Linked DNA regions of Homo sapiens: regions 1, 2, 4 and 5 are each linked to region 3. Evidence: promoter capture Hi-C in 16 types of primary human blood cells and fetal thymus (Javierre and others, 2016). All regions are on one chromosome and are shown on one strand. Each heading gives the region's core, a stretch centred on a gene start or on the middle of the fragment in contact. The rest is flanking DNA. Distances are from core to core; before and after follow the strand shown. Region 1 overlaps MSH3 (mutS homolog 3). Region 2 overlaps ATG10 (autophagy related 10). Region 3 holds the start of CKMT2 (creatine kinase, mitochondrial 2). Region 4 overlaps MSH3 (mutS homolog 3). Region 5 overlaps MSH3 (mutS homolog 3).

The links. The method cuts DNA at HindIII sites, captures the fragments that hold promoters and counts their contacts. A CHiCAGO score of 5 or more calls a contact.
Region 1: a fragment that was not itself captured here is called in contact with the fragment with the promoter of CKMT2 in region 3 in 3 of 17 cell types (total CD4 T cells, M1 macrophages and endothelial precursors); the score reaches 5.9 in total CD4 T cells.
Region 2: a contact is called between a fragment that was not itself captured here and the fragment with the promoter of CKMT2 in region 3, in 1 of 17 cell types (neutrophils). The highest score is 5.4, in neutrophils.
Region 4: a contact is called between a fragment that was not itself captured here and the fragment with the promoter of CKMT2 in region 3, in 1 of 17 cell types (total CD8 T cells). The highest score is 5.1, in total CD8 T cells.
Region 5: a fragment that was not itself captured here is called in contact with the fragment with the promoter of CKMT2 in region 3 in 4 of 17 cell types (endothelial precursors, megakaryocytes, total CD8 T cells and 1 more); the score reaches 5.9 in endothelial precursors.

Annotation. Positions count from the first base shown.
Region 1 is chr5:80,698,066-80,700,765 of GRCh38, forward strand. The region is part of intron 8 of MSH3 (mutS homolog 3); the gene reads left to right. Among named protein-coding and RNA genes, the nearest start is that of DHFR, 44 kb to the left of the region's middle. The HindIII fragment of the contact is 4,490 bases long and covers 1-2,700 here.
Region 2 is chr5:82,215,322-82,218,021 of GRCh38, forward strand. All of the region lies in intron 5 of ATG10 (autophagy related 10), which reads left to right. Among named protein-coding and RNA genes, the nearest start is that of RPS23, 62 kb to the right of the region's middle. The HindIII fragment of the contact is 4,691 bases long and covers 1-2,700 here.
Region 3 is chr5:81,232,007-81,234,706 of GRCh38, forward strand. CKMT2 (creatine kinase, mitochondrial 2) reads left to right here and starts at 1,316. Exons shown (of 10, transcript NM_001099735.2): 1 at 1,316-1,371. The HindIII fragment of the contact is 4,095 bases long and covers 1-2,700 here.
Region 4 is chr5:80,665,099-80,667,798 of GRCh38, forward strand. MSH3 (mutS homolog 3) reads left to right here. Exons shown (of 24, transcript NM_002439.5): 3 at 45-265. Among named protein-coding and RNA genes, the nearest start is that of DHFR, 11 kb to the left of the region's middle. RefSeq lists an enhancer at 2,493-2,700. The HindIII fragment of the contact is 1,419 bases long and covers 659-2,077 here.
Region 5 is chr5:80,681,453-80,684,152 of GRCh38, forward strand. The region is part of intron 8 of MSH3 (mutS homolog 3); the gene reads left to right. Among named protein-coding and RNA genes, the nearest start is that of DHFR, 28 kb to the left of the region's middle. The HindIII fragment of the contact is 1,819 bases long and covers 421-2,239 here.

The DNA.
Region 1 (2,700 bases), core at 62-2,561, 530 kb before region 3:
CCCAGCTAATTTTTTTTGTAGAGATGAGGCCTCTCTATGTCTTCTATACTGGTTTTAAACTCCTGGGCTCAAGCAATCCACCCACCTTGGCCTCCCCAAAATGTTGGAATTACAAGCGTGGACCATTGCGCCTGGCCAAAATCTGCATTTTGATGGATGTTTCCAGTAGATTCTCAAGTTGTTGATACATCTTCTAAGTTGAACATTATTATACAGTCATTCATTTATTCATCCTTAAACACAGTTATTGAGTGGCTGCTGTGCGCCAGCTTTGTTACTAGGTGGCAAGGATACAGAAATGAGAAAGATCCCTCCTTTCCAAGTTCTTATAGTCTAGAGGGGAGGTAGTCATGGAAATAATTGTAATGAAAGCGCTGGTTGAAAATATCTTAGAGTTACTGGCAGCCCTTGAGCATCATGCTAGTTTGCTAGAGGGGTGTGTTAGAATTGAGACTGGAAGAATGAATGCCAGTCAGGTGGAGGTGTGAGAGAGCGTGCTTTTCTTAGGAAGCAGAAACTAGTTTGGCTGGGTTACTCTGCCAGCATGAGCAGGCAACCTGAGGCAGGACAGACGTGTTTTGGAGAGAAAGGGTGTATAAAGCTGGAAACCATCATTCTCAGCAAACTGTCGCAAGGACAAAAAACCAAACACCGCATGTTCTCACTCATAGGTGGGAATTGAACAATGAGAACACTTGGACACAGGAAGGGGAACCTCACACACCGGGGGGCCTGTTGTGGGGTGGTGGGGGGGACGGATAGCATTAGGAGATATACCTAATGTAAATGACAAGTTAATGGGTGCAGCATACCAACATGGCACATGTATACATATGTAACAAACCTGCACGTTGTGCACATGTACCCTAGAACTTAAAGTATAATAAAAATATACAAATAAATAAAAAATAAAAAGAGAATCAAGAGTGAAACGGTGGAGTGAGAAAGCGGCATTACACAGGGCCTGGATAAAGAGTTTCCTGTGACAGAGACTGAGCTGAGATGGCTGGTGATGGGGACCGTAGCCTAGTGACCCTTTGTGTACCCAGCACCTATCAAAGTAGCTCACACATAATAGGTGCTTAATAAATGCTTGGTAAATGAATGATTAAATAAGTGATGTTTAGAATAAAGAGAATAATGGGTATCTCCTATTTGTTTTTCTTAACAAAACTGATTTGGGTTTTTTAAACATAGAAGGGTTGTTGTAAGGCTGGGCGTGGTGGCTCATACCTGTAATCCCAGCACTATGGGAGGACGAGATGGGTGGATCACCTGAGGTCAGGAGTTCCAGACCAGCCTGGCCAACATGGTGAAACCCCACCTCTACTAAAGGTACAAAAATTAGTTGGGTGTGGTGTCAGCACCTGTAATCCTAGCTACTTGGGAGGCTGAGGCAGGAGAATGGCTTGAACCCGGGAGGTGGAGGTTGCAGTGATTCAAGATTGCACCACTGCACTCCAGCCTGGGCAACAGAGTACAACACTGTCTCCAAAAAAAAAAAAAAAAAAAAAAAGGTTGTTGGAGTAGCTGGAAATCTATACATTAACATATATGGTAATCAATGTCTATTTACATTATATAGATTTACATTATACAGATGTAGCCAATTCATTTACTCTTTTGGAAAGATCATATTGATTTCTTATCGTTTTTTCCCCATTATGTTTATTTCTTTAAAAAATTTTTTAATATCACTGTAAATTGATTGAAGCATCCTGACATTTCCATAGATATTCCTTTACAGCAAATATTAATGGGATCTACATGGCTAAGTTACTGTTTAAAGATTGATATTGATGATAACTAGGCACTAGCCTCCCCTCTGGCGCTTGAAACCTTTTCTGTTGTGGTATTCGTAGGAAATCTCTTTTTTTCTTTATATTTTGTCTTCCCCATTTTCCTCATTCCTCTTTTCGAGAGCAGAAGATAAATATAAAGTTGACTACTTTGTCATTCTGTTTCATTATGTTTATTAGACGGTAGTTTCACTTAACTATTTAGATAATCTAGAATTAGAAAATAAATTGTGGGCCTGGCAGGGTGGCTCATGCCTAAAATCCGAGCACTTTGGGAGGCTGAGGCGGGTGGATCACTTGAGGTCCGGAGTTCAAGGTCAGCCTGGCCAACATGGTGAAACCTCATCTCTACTAAAAATACAAAAAATTAGCTGGGCATGATGGCACGTGCCTGTAATCCCACCTTCTCAGGAGGCTGAGGCAGGAGAATTGTTCGAACCTGGGAGGCAGAGGTTGCAGTGAGTCGAGATCTCCCCACTGCACTCCAGTCTGGGCGACAGAACAAATCAATTCTGGTAGTAGAGATGGTAGTGACTAAATGGAAGAAATAAATCTCATATGCTGTAGGAAAATGTTTGCCACTGGGAAACCATTTAAAGAGGAAGTGTTATTAGTATTAAAAAATCTGTCATTTTGAAATTTCTTTTTAAAAATTACATTAATTTCTTCCCTGGTGGTAATGCCATTGTATTTTCAGTAGGTTTTTTTTTTAGTCCTGATACTTTTTGTATATCTAGCTAGCAATTTTAATGGATGTGCTTAACTCATGAAAATCCAGATTTTAAAACATGATAAGTTAATAGGTGATAGTTATTTTATAAGAACATTTGCCATGAGTTTATTTAAAGAATGAGAGCTTCTTTGTGCATTTTCATCAAGTGCATTCTCCTCAGGAATATAT
Region 2 (2,700 bases), core at 165-2,664, 980 kb after region 3:
TAGACATAACAACCTTTTGTAACCTAGTAATGGAAGTGGCTTCCCATCACTTTAGCCATATTCTATTTGTTAGAAGCAAGACAGTAGATCCAGCCCATACGCAAGGGGACACAAGGGAATTATTGAACCGTTTTAGAAAGCTGCCTACCAGACCTTGAGTTTTTTCAATGGTGATATTCTCAGAAAGAAAAAATTAATTTTTATATATCTTTAAAAAACACTTGAATTAAATGTCATGTTTGTTAAGAAACATCAGCTCATTTTGTCCTGAAACAAAGGCTAACACTGATAAATACAGCACCTGCATTGACCATATTTTAAAAATATTTCCAGGCCAGACACGGTGGCTCACACCTGTAATCCCAGCACTTTGGGAGGTTGAGGCAGGTGGATCACCTGAGGTCGGGAGTTCGAGACCAGCCTGGCCAACATGGTGAAACCCCATTCTCTACTAAAAATACAAAAAATTAGCTGGGCATGGTGGCAGGCGCCTATAATCCCAGCTACTCGGGAGGCTGAGGCAGAATAGCTTGAACCTGGGAGGTGAAGGTTGCAGTGAGCTGAGATCGCCCCACTGCACTCCAGCCTGGGCAACAAGAGCGAAACTCCATCTCAAAAAAAAAAAAAAATCCAATTTGTTACATTGTAATAAATAATGACCTTCTGAGAATTCAAAGACCCAAATACAAGGGAGTGTATTGCAGCAGGCTTAATCAATGTTTAGTGATGATAGAATGTATAATCGAAGAGCCAAGGATAGAAATCAAATTGCCTTTCTGCAGAAAGATCCTCAACAATTGAAAAACTGCTCTATAAAACTAAAGAACAGCTTGATGATTTAGAAAATAGAAACTGCAGAAATATTCTGTAGATCCTAGATATGTCCCCACTGCTTATTACCTTGTCTGCTTCAGAGTAAAAAGGAAGGGCAACAAAAAGAGATTCAACTTAGTGAATTTCGCTCTGGCCTGGAGCCACCCTGGCTTAAGACTATTAGCTAAGTATATCCTGGTCTAAAAATAAATCTTCTACCCTCTTATTTTCAAGTAACTTTCCTTTTTCATACCCAGACCAGAGAAGAGACATATATTATTAACTTACATCCAGACTTTGATAGATTCTTTAATGAATGGATTTTGATGTTCTGATATGGTAAAATTATGCATCACATCCACAATAATAGTATTGTTTTAAAATACCAGAATCAAGTAAGCCACCTGAGCAACTTGTGAGACTTCAAGCATGCTAATTAGGTATGAATAGAATGGGAGATCAATGACAGACTGGCAACACTTCAGCAAAAGCCACTTCTAGATACTTGCCTTATGACCAGGAAATGTCTTACACTAGCAATAGATTATTGTAATATGCCAAACCAATAAAACTCATGCTATTAGGAGTTTCATTAGATTTATTTGAGTCCACAGCTATAAGAATGAAGATGGTAGCAACAGGCCAGGCGCAGTGGCTCATGCCTGTAATCCCAGCACTTTGGGAGGCCGAGGTGGGTGGATCATGAGGTCAGGAGTTCAAGACCAGCCTGGACAATATGGTGAAACCCCATCTCTACTAAAAATACAAAAATCAGCTGGGTGTAGTGGTGCGTGCCTGTAGTCCCAGCTACTTAGGAGGCTGAGGCAGGAGAATCACTTGAACCCGGGAGGTGGAGGTTGCAGTGAGCCGAGATTGCGCTACTGCACTCCAGCCTGGGTGACAGAGTGAGACTCAGTCTCAAAAAAAAAAAATGACGATGGTAGCAACAACTATCTTCTCTTTTTACTTGAAACCTGTTTTATAGAAGCAGAATACTTAACCACTCTGTAAGAATGCTTAGGCCTATAGTAAAATTGGGAAGATCATGAGTTTTGCAATCAAACAGACATCAGTCTCAGCCCAGCCTCTTACTAGCTGTTTGGCCTTGGGTAAGTTACCTAACTCCCTTGGAAATTCAGTGTCCTCCTATATAAAATGGGAGAAATAATGGTGGTGATGGTGATGATGACCACAACGAACATTGTTAAGCATTTGTTATTTACTAAACACTGTGCTATTTATGTGCATTAGTTCATTTACTACTTTTATTACATAGTAATATTACATTTACTATGTGCTTATATATTATATTACCTTATAATTCTTATAAGGTATAAATGCAATCTTATCCCTTATATATCCTGTCATATATATGTGTATGTGTCAGAAGCTATTTTTTGCCACATGAATCTTTTGTGACAAATTGTAGAATATATATGCATATATATACACACACACACCCATATACATACACATATAGGGCATAATATTGATTGGCAGCAGTTTACACAGGCAACATGCTTTACATGCATTGTCTCATTTAATTCTCAAAACAGCTGGCCATGTGTGGTGGCTCACACCTGTACCCAGCACTTTGGGAGGCTGAGGCAGGAAGACTGCTTGAGCCCAGGAATTTGAGGCCAGCCTGGGCAATATAACAAGACCCCCTCTCTACCAAAAAAAAAAAAAAAAATTAACTGGGTGTGGTAGTGTGCACCTGTGGTTCTAGCTACTCGGGAGGCTGAGGTAGGAGGCTCGCTTGACCCCAGGAGGTCAAGGCTGTGGTGAGCTGAGATTGTACCATTGCACTCTAGCCTGGGCAACAGATCCAGACCTTGTCTCTAAATTAAAACAAAACAAAACCAAACAAAAAAACAGCTGCATAAG
Region 3 (2,700 bases), core at 66-2,565:
GTGAGTGGAGGGGGCCCTAAATGTTGATTAGGCAATTGGGGAGGAAAAGGAGGTTTTTGCTATAACTGCCATTCTTTAAATCTACAATTCCATGCTCTTTAAAAGCCTTATAATTTTCTGGATCTGGGAGCTGGGCTATTTCAGGGTCAATGGATTTATTTCAGTTGGTGCCTGAACTGACTTGAAACAAGTGTGTGTGGAAAAGAGCTATTTTGAGAAGGAATAAACCGAGACTGCCCTGATGATAGAATATGCAAGCTGGTGGGTCTTGACTCCTTAAAGGATTATGAAATTAATTTGATTGGTCCCAATCTTTATATAACCACCCCAATCAGGAAACTTCCCATCCCGCCAAAAGGCCCCCTCACGTGCTCTCCCTGTCAGTACCCCATGCAAAGGTAAAATAGATGATATTTTTAAACATGGGTCGTGTTTAAAAGAAATGGAAACTCCTTCAGAGAATGAAGGAGAACCACACTGGGTAGAAGGTTATTCCTGGGGCTCCACCCCTTGCTCCATCAAGTCCTCTGAGCATGAGCTGGGCTCTGAGAAGGAAGAGACAGGAACCAATTGGTCATGTCCACGTGGCCTCAGAAGCTGAGTACGTGACGGTCACCAGATGCCTAGGCAGGCTCCCTTGAAATGGCAGGGCTGCTGTCCAAAATCCTGCTGGGTCATTGCTATTTACAGGCAGCCTTCCCGGCGTGCGGTGGATATCCCAAGCGGGGCTATTTTTAAGCAGGGCTATGGCCTGCCGTGGGTTAAGCTGGTGTGGACAGAAAGCGAGATGATCTAGCCATCTACTGCAGGGGGCCTGATCTTGAACAGAAACCTGACTGTAATTGTCCCTGGATCCAGGTCCCAGACAAAGACGCTGGAAGGAGGTCCCTCCAGCCCCTGGCTCAGGGCCCGGTCAGCTGCTGGAGCCAGGCAGCTTGAGACATCCTCCTCTCCGACCTTGGCTTGAGGGGTTCATCCTCCAGAGCTCACCAGGGCCCCAAGGCTGGTACACCTGAGAGAAGAGAGAAACAAATCCCCCAACAGATGTGCAATTTCACCTGCTGGCCCTTCCATTCTGAGATCCAGAGCCCTGGCAAAGGAGCCTCCAGGACCAGGCCTGGGAAGCAAGACTGGCTCCGCCTTTTACGTTTCAGAGAAAGGGCAGGTGCTATAAAGGGCCCAGCGCCCACGGGCCTGCCTTCAAGGGTACAGCTGTGGGGGCCGGTGCGCCCGGAGGTCTACGCTGGGATTGGTGAGGTCCTCTGGCCCCGCCCCGCCAGGGAGGATTTCCAGGCCGGCCCGACCAGCTCGCCCTGCATACACTTCTTGGCTGTGTGCGCTCAGCAGGACGTGGGAGGCTCCGGCTTCAAGGTCGGTGAGTCCGTGAAACTCTGCTTTATTCCTCCAAAGAGGGGTCATGGCTAGAGCCAGTGTGAAGGGCCTTGGAGGAGTGGATGCCGGGCTGTAGACGGGGACCCCGTTAGGACGCTGACTGCGAGGAGGCAATGGTGACTCGCTAAAGCCAGCAGAGCTCCCGCCCTTGGCCGAAGCGACCCCTCCTCCCTGCACACAGGTGGGGGCAGCTCAGCACCAGGAGCAGAACAAATCAGCACGCTGCCTGCAGGGCCTCTTTTTGGTAGTGAATCAGGAATTTTTCTCGATGGAAAAAAAAATCTAAAGGCTGTATTTTGACGCTAAGTTTGGGACAACTTTAAACTTAAAGTGTCTTTCCCTTGTAATTCACAGAGTCTAATCCACTCATTTCTGGGAATGTTTTTCCCCAGCAGTCTCAGTCTCAAAAGACATGTAAATCAGTGACTTGGGATGAACTAACTAGAAAATTAAAATTTTGAGAAGCTATTTGCTCATAAGCCCAATAGCCAGGCCCAGTTTAAACGGGCAAATAGTATTGCTAGAGATTCAGTTTTGCCGTCACTAATACTAACACATTGATAATGAGACAAGTAACCGTCTCCCCTCCCCACCATCCTTACCTTTCCCACCGGAGGTTAATTAAAAAAAAAAAAAAAAAAAAAAAAACCTATGGAATTGGCCCCACGTGTTTCACCTGGGCAGAGGCCTGTTCTTCACTAGCTTGCTTGCTTGGTTGGTTGTCCCGGGGTTAAAATCAGTCCTGTTCTTGCCCCTAGAGTGGTCTGCCTTCAAATGCTCTCCTCCGAATGTGAGGAAGAGTGACATTTGACAAACAGACCAAAACCTTTAGGTCTCCTCAGTGCTGCCCTTTAGACCTTCCAGAAAGTGTTGCCAGGCTCGTGACCCCTCACAGTGTCAGCTGAGTCAAGTGAGGGGCAGTTAGTGGCCCTCAGGACAAGGTTACGCTAGGTACACCAGTGTGCTGTTTCCAGAAGGGCTGCTTTTCCTGTCTACGGCTCTCACATTTTCTCTGTTCTGAACTCGTGTCCTTGGTCTGTTCTCTCTGTCCTCTCATAGAGGCGAGCATGGCCACAGCATGTGGCCAGAGACTTCCTGACAGGCAGGCTCTTCCGGGAGGCTCTTGGCCTTGTTTGGCGGTCTGAGCACTTCACTTCCTCTGCATTGATAGGCACCTTTTCCAAAGACCCCAGACTTTGGAGTTAATCACGCCTGTGGGTTAAGGCACTGTCACAGCAAAGCACAGGAGTGCCACATGCACCCCATGGACTCTGCCAGCCTCATGACCAAATCATATCATTAGGAAAT
Region 4 (2,700 bases), core at 118-2,617, 570 kb before region 3:
CCAAAATTACTATTGTTCTGTTTTCTTCTTATTTGCTGCCTAAGAGCCAAAGAAATGTCTGAGGACCAGGAATGTTTCAAAGTCTCTGGAAAAATTGAAAGAATTCTGCTGCGATTCTGCCCTTCCTCAAAGTAGAGTCCAGACAGAATCTCTGCAGGAGAGATTTGCAGTTCTGCCAAAATGTACTGATTTTGATGATATCAGTCTTCTACACGCAAAGAATGCAGTTTCTTCTGAAGATTCGAAACGTCAAATTAATCAAAAGGTATGTAACTGCTATAGATGAGTATCCAGTTACCTAGAATAGTGGGTTCTGAAGTACTGTCAGGTTCTCTGAGGTCATTCATGGCAATGGTTCCTAAACTTGGATGGTCTTCTGAATCATCTGAGGGAGCTTTTGTGTTTTAGTTTAGTTTTCTTACATCCCTGGAGATTCGATTTACTGTGTTTTGGGAGGGATTAATTGGTTTGTATGGGAACAAAACAAAAGCCTTCCAGGTAATTCTGAGGTATTGCCTGGATCAGGAGCCCTTGACTTGGAGGGATTCTTTATTGAGAATTAATACAAGCACAGTTTCTTACAGTCTTCCTTAGAGTTTCCATGATTACCGTGGAAAATCATGATGGGCAACTTAGATATTTTGAGGTTTCAGTTGAAAGCTTGATAGATAGAAAGTAAATTCAAATGTAAGCCAAATGAACATGGGCTTTTTACTTTATCCACTATTTGTTTTGAGACTTTTAATGGTTTTCATAACTGCAGAATCAGGGAATTTAACTCATGCTCCATCATTGAAATCTGTAATTCAGAATAGTGATTGGTTCGCAACCTTAGCTTTACATTGGAATCACCTGGAGAACTTCAAACAAAAATTGCCATTAAGAACCTTCCCTCAGAATCTTATCTAATTGGTTTTCACTGACAAATGGGCATGGATATTTTTTAAAAGTTTACATTTTATTTTGTATTTTATTTTTATTGATGGAGTCTTGCTCTGTTGTCCAGGCTAGAGTACAGTTGTGCGATTATAGTTCACTGTAGTCTCAAACTTCTGGTCTCAAGCAATCCTCCCACCTTAGCCTGCAGATGAGGTGAGACTAAAGGAAAAGCAGTCATTTTAATCTGTAGCTGTGATTGACAACCATTGAATTAGAGAAATGGTTCTATATATGTATATGTATGTGTGTATGTATATATATGAGTCATTGAAATTCTAATGAAAGCTGTTGGCCTTTTTCTTCAGAAAAATTCTCAAGCCAACAAAATTTTGCCTATAATTTTCAAGATTTCACACCTTTCCCACAAAGCCCAGATCCATGAACTCCTCCCTCAGCCAGGCTAATATTGATTGACTTATCTTAGATCATCAAGAAAAAAAAGGTGTTTTTGTTTTTAGTCTCTTTTAATACTTAGAAGCAGTTCACCTAAGTATAGTGGTTATTAAGCATAGAAGTCATAAAGTTTATCCATTAAAGCTCACTTTATTGATAGGAGCATTTACTCCAAGGTCTCAGAAGAGCGTATACATTATTGCTTTATACATAGAATGACCAACTTGGCATGTCCACATCACAGGAAATTAGAAGTAAGTAGACAGAGGGGGCACGTAGAAGCAGTGCCATTATTACAGGTGATAAGCTGTTTGATGGCATGGATAGACGTGGATGAATGGCAAAAAGCTACTGAGTGAACATAAATGCCCCATGGTCCAGGACCATTAGGGTGGGGTCAGCAATGCCATAACTCTCAATAGGTTTCGAAATATATTCTGATCACTCTGAATTGTCCAGACAAGGTTAAATTGAGTTCAGCATACTGTCTCTGGGAATATGAAATAGAATGTAATGTATCTGATGAGTATTTCTATCCAAATCATTTTTTTTAAAGTTGCTTATTTTGTTACCCAGGTATTAATATGTACAACAAACCCTCATGACACAAGTTTTCCTATATAACAAACCTGCACATGTACCCCTGAACTTAAAATGAAAGTTAAAAAAAAGTTGCTTAATATTCAAGTATTTAGATTGATTTAATTGTTAGCATCCCATAAGGATAAAACTTTTTTTTCCTGGAAGCTTATCTCATTTCCTAAAAGAATAAAGTATAAAGTAAGAATAAGTTTTTACAATGTAAGAAATATATTTTCTGTGTTGATTAACTTTTATACTACATAGTATATACCTGCATTTAATATAGAATACATACTATATTCCATGACATAAAAGTCATGGAAACAAAATAGGAAACTCATCAAAATTAAAAGCAAAGGCATTCTTAGGTATAGGAAAATTGTTATGCAATCCTTGGGGTGTTGCTTCGCCAGCTGTAAACCTCTGTGGCTGGTGGTGCCTTTGCCCGAGTTTTTACTTGGGCCTGCTGGGCTCATTCCTCCCACTCGGCCTGGCAGGCTGTGCTTGGCTTTTGCTTTTGGCCTGAATCTCGCAGCTGCCAAGGGTGAGCCAGGAGTGGAGTGGTGAGGGTGAGGGGTGTGTGAGCAGGTGACCATGGGGTCTGGCCCCTGTGCACTGCCAGGCATGCTGGCTTCGGCAGGGTGGGCAGCTCCAGGTGCCAGCGTGAGTGAGGGCTGGACCAGGCGTACCACAAACAGCTTCCACAGCTGGCACCAGGGAACACAGTGGCGCCCAGAAGCTTGGAGATTCCAGGAACTGCAGAGCCCCAGAGAGGGTGTCATAGAC
Region 5 (2,700 bases), core at 80-2,579, 550 kb before region 3:
AAATCATCAGAAATGCACATGAATATTTCTATATATGGATATTCATCATAACAGTATTTGTAATACTGAAAAAATGAATATAGAAATGGAATGGATAAATTATGATAAATTATGATAAATGGATAAATTATGATTTCCTGTCTTTGATTTAGTTCATTTTTCTTTATATTTTATTAACTTAGTATATATTTTATTAACTTAGTATATATTTTATTAATTTAGATTGAGTAAAGTCAATCAATTTTATCAACACATTCATTTTTTTGTTTTCTGCTTAATTTTATAAAATAACAATGGCGAAATTCAATAAAATATCAAAATATTTCATAATGACATTGTCAAAAGTGAATTTTTGTTTGTCAAGCAGCATTCATTGACTGGTGATATTCCTAAATGTTTGTTCATCACATGAGATTTAAAAGCTTGAATTTGGCATATCAAAGATAATTTAGGTGTCTTATGTGGGTTTTACCAAATTTAATGCCTGCTTTTGTCTTATTTTAATTTGAATTTCTCTAGTTAGCATTGTAAATAATTTTCTCTATGTTTACTGACCGTGTGTAATTTTTCAATCTTTGCACTTTTTTTTGTATCCTTTGATCATTTTCACTTTATTTGCATATTGGACTAAGCGAAGTCAAAAGTTAAATCTGCATTTCTGTGGAGTTCCTACAGCTAATTTATATCTATGGACAGAATGAAGTAGAGGAAATTCAAAAGTTAGCAGGGGTCAAACAGTGTGGACTCTTGTGACTCAGGGTTTGAGTTGGAAAACTAGCTCTTCCCTTTAGTGACTTTGAGTAAGTTATCTACTGTATTGTCCTTCAGTGTCCTTTATATTGGGGGTATTAAGAGTGCTTACCTCATGGGGTTGTTGTGAGGATTAAATAAGTTAATATAGGTAAAGCGCCTGAAATAGTACCTGCTGTAGAAGGCTCTCTGTAAGAGGAAGTTTTTTTTTTTATATTTTAATTAAATTTTCTGTGGCTGGGCGCAGTGGCTTATGCTTGTAATCCCAGCAGTTTGGGAGGCCAAGTCAGGCGGATCACAAGATCAGGAGTTCGAGACCAGCCTGACCAACATGGTGAAACCCCATCTCTACTAAAAATACAAAAATTAGCCAGGCATGGCTAAAGTTTTTTGTAGGTACATAATAGATGTATATATTTATGGGTTACATGAGATACTTTCATACAGGCATACAATGCATAATAATTACATCAGGGTAAATGGGGTATCCATCTCCTCAAGCATTTATCCTTTGTGTTACAAACAACCCAATTATACTCTTTTAGTTATTTTAAAATGTACAATTAAATGATTTTTGACTGTAGTCATTCTGTTGCACTATCAAATGCTAGGTCTTATTCTTTCTATTTTTTTTGTACCCATTAACCATCCCCAGTTCCCTTCTCAGCCTCTGGTAGCCATCTTTCTACTCTCTATCTCCATGAGTTCAGTTGTTTTAATTTTTAGCTCCCACAAGTAGGTGAGAACATGCAAAGTTTATCTTTCTGTGCCTGGCTTATTTCATGTAAAATAATGACCTCCAGTTCCATCCATGTTGTTGCAAATGACAGGATCTCATTCCTTTTCATGGCAGAATGCTACTCCATTGTATATATGTACTACATTTTCTTTACCCATTTGTCTGCTGACAGACACCTGGGTGCTCGCAAATCTTAGCTCTTGTGAATAGTGCTGTAGTAAACATGGGAGTGCACATATCTCTTCTATATACTGATTTCCCTTCTTTTGAGTATATATCTAGCAGTGGGATTGCTGGATCATGTGGTAGTTCTATTTTTAGTTTTTTGGTAGTTTTTTTTCAAACTACTCTCCATAGTGGTTGTACTAATTTACATTCCCACCAACAGTCTGTGAGGGTTCCCTTTTCTCCACATCCTCACCAGCATTTATTATTGCATGTCTTTGGATAAAAGCCATTTTAACTGAGGTGAGATGGTATCTCATTGTAGTTTTGATTTGGATTTCTGTAATGAACGATGGTGTTGAGAGCTTTTCACATACCAGGCTGCCATTGTATGTCTTCTTTTGAGAAATGTCTATTCAATTTGTCTATTTTTAAATTGGATAATTAGATTTTTCCTGTAGAGTTGTTTGAGCTCCTTATATATTGTGGTTATTAATCCCTTGTCACATGGGTGGTCTACATACATTTTCTTCCATTCCATGGGTTGTCTCTTCACTTTGTTGATTGTTTCTGTTGCTGTGCAGAAGCTTTTTAACTTCATGTGATCCCATTTGTCCATCTTTGCTTTGGTTGCCCTATTAAGAAATCTTTGCCCAGTTCAGTGTTCTGGAGAGTTTCCCCAATGTTTTATTTTAGTCATTTCATAGTGTGACATTTTAGATTTAAGTCTTTAATCCATTTTTGATTTGATTTTTGTATATGGTGAGAGATAGGGTCTAGTTTCATTGTTCTGCATATGGATGTCCAGTTTTCCCAGCACCATTTGTTGAAAAGATTCTTTCCTCAGTGTATGTTCTTGGCACCATTGTCAAAAATGAGTTCACTGTAGATGTATGGATTTATTTCTGGGTTTTCTGTTCTGTTCCAGTGGTCTGTGTGTCTGTTTTTATGCCAGTACCATGCCATTTTGGTTACTATAGCTCTGTAGTATAATTTGAAGTCAGGTAATGTGATACCTCCAATTTTGTCCTTTTTGCTTAGGATAT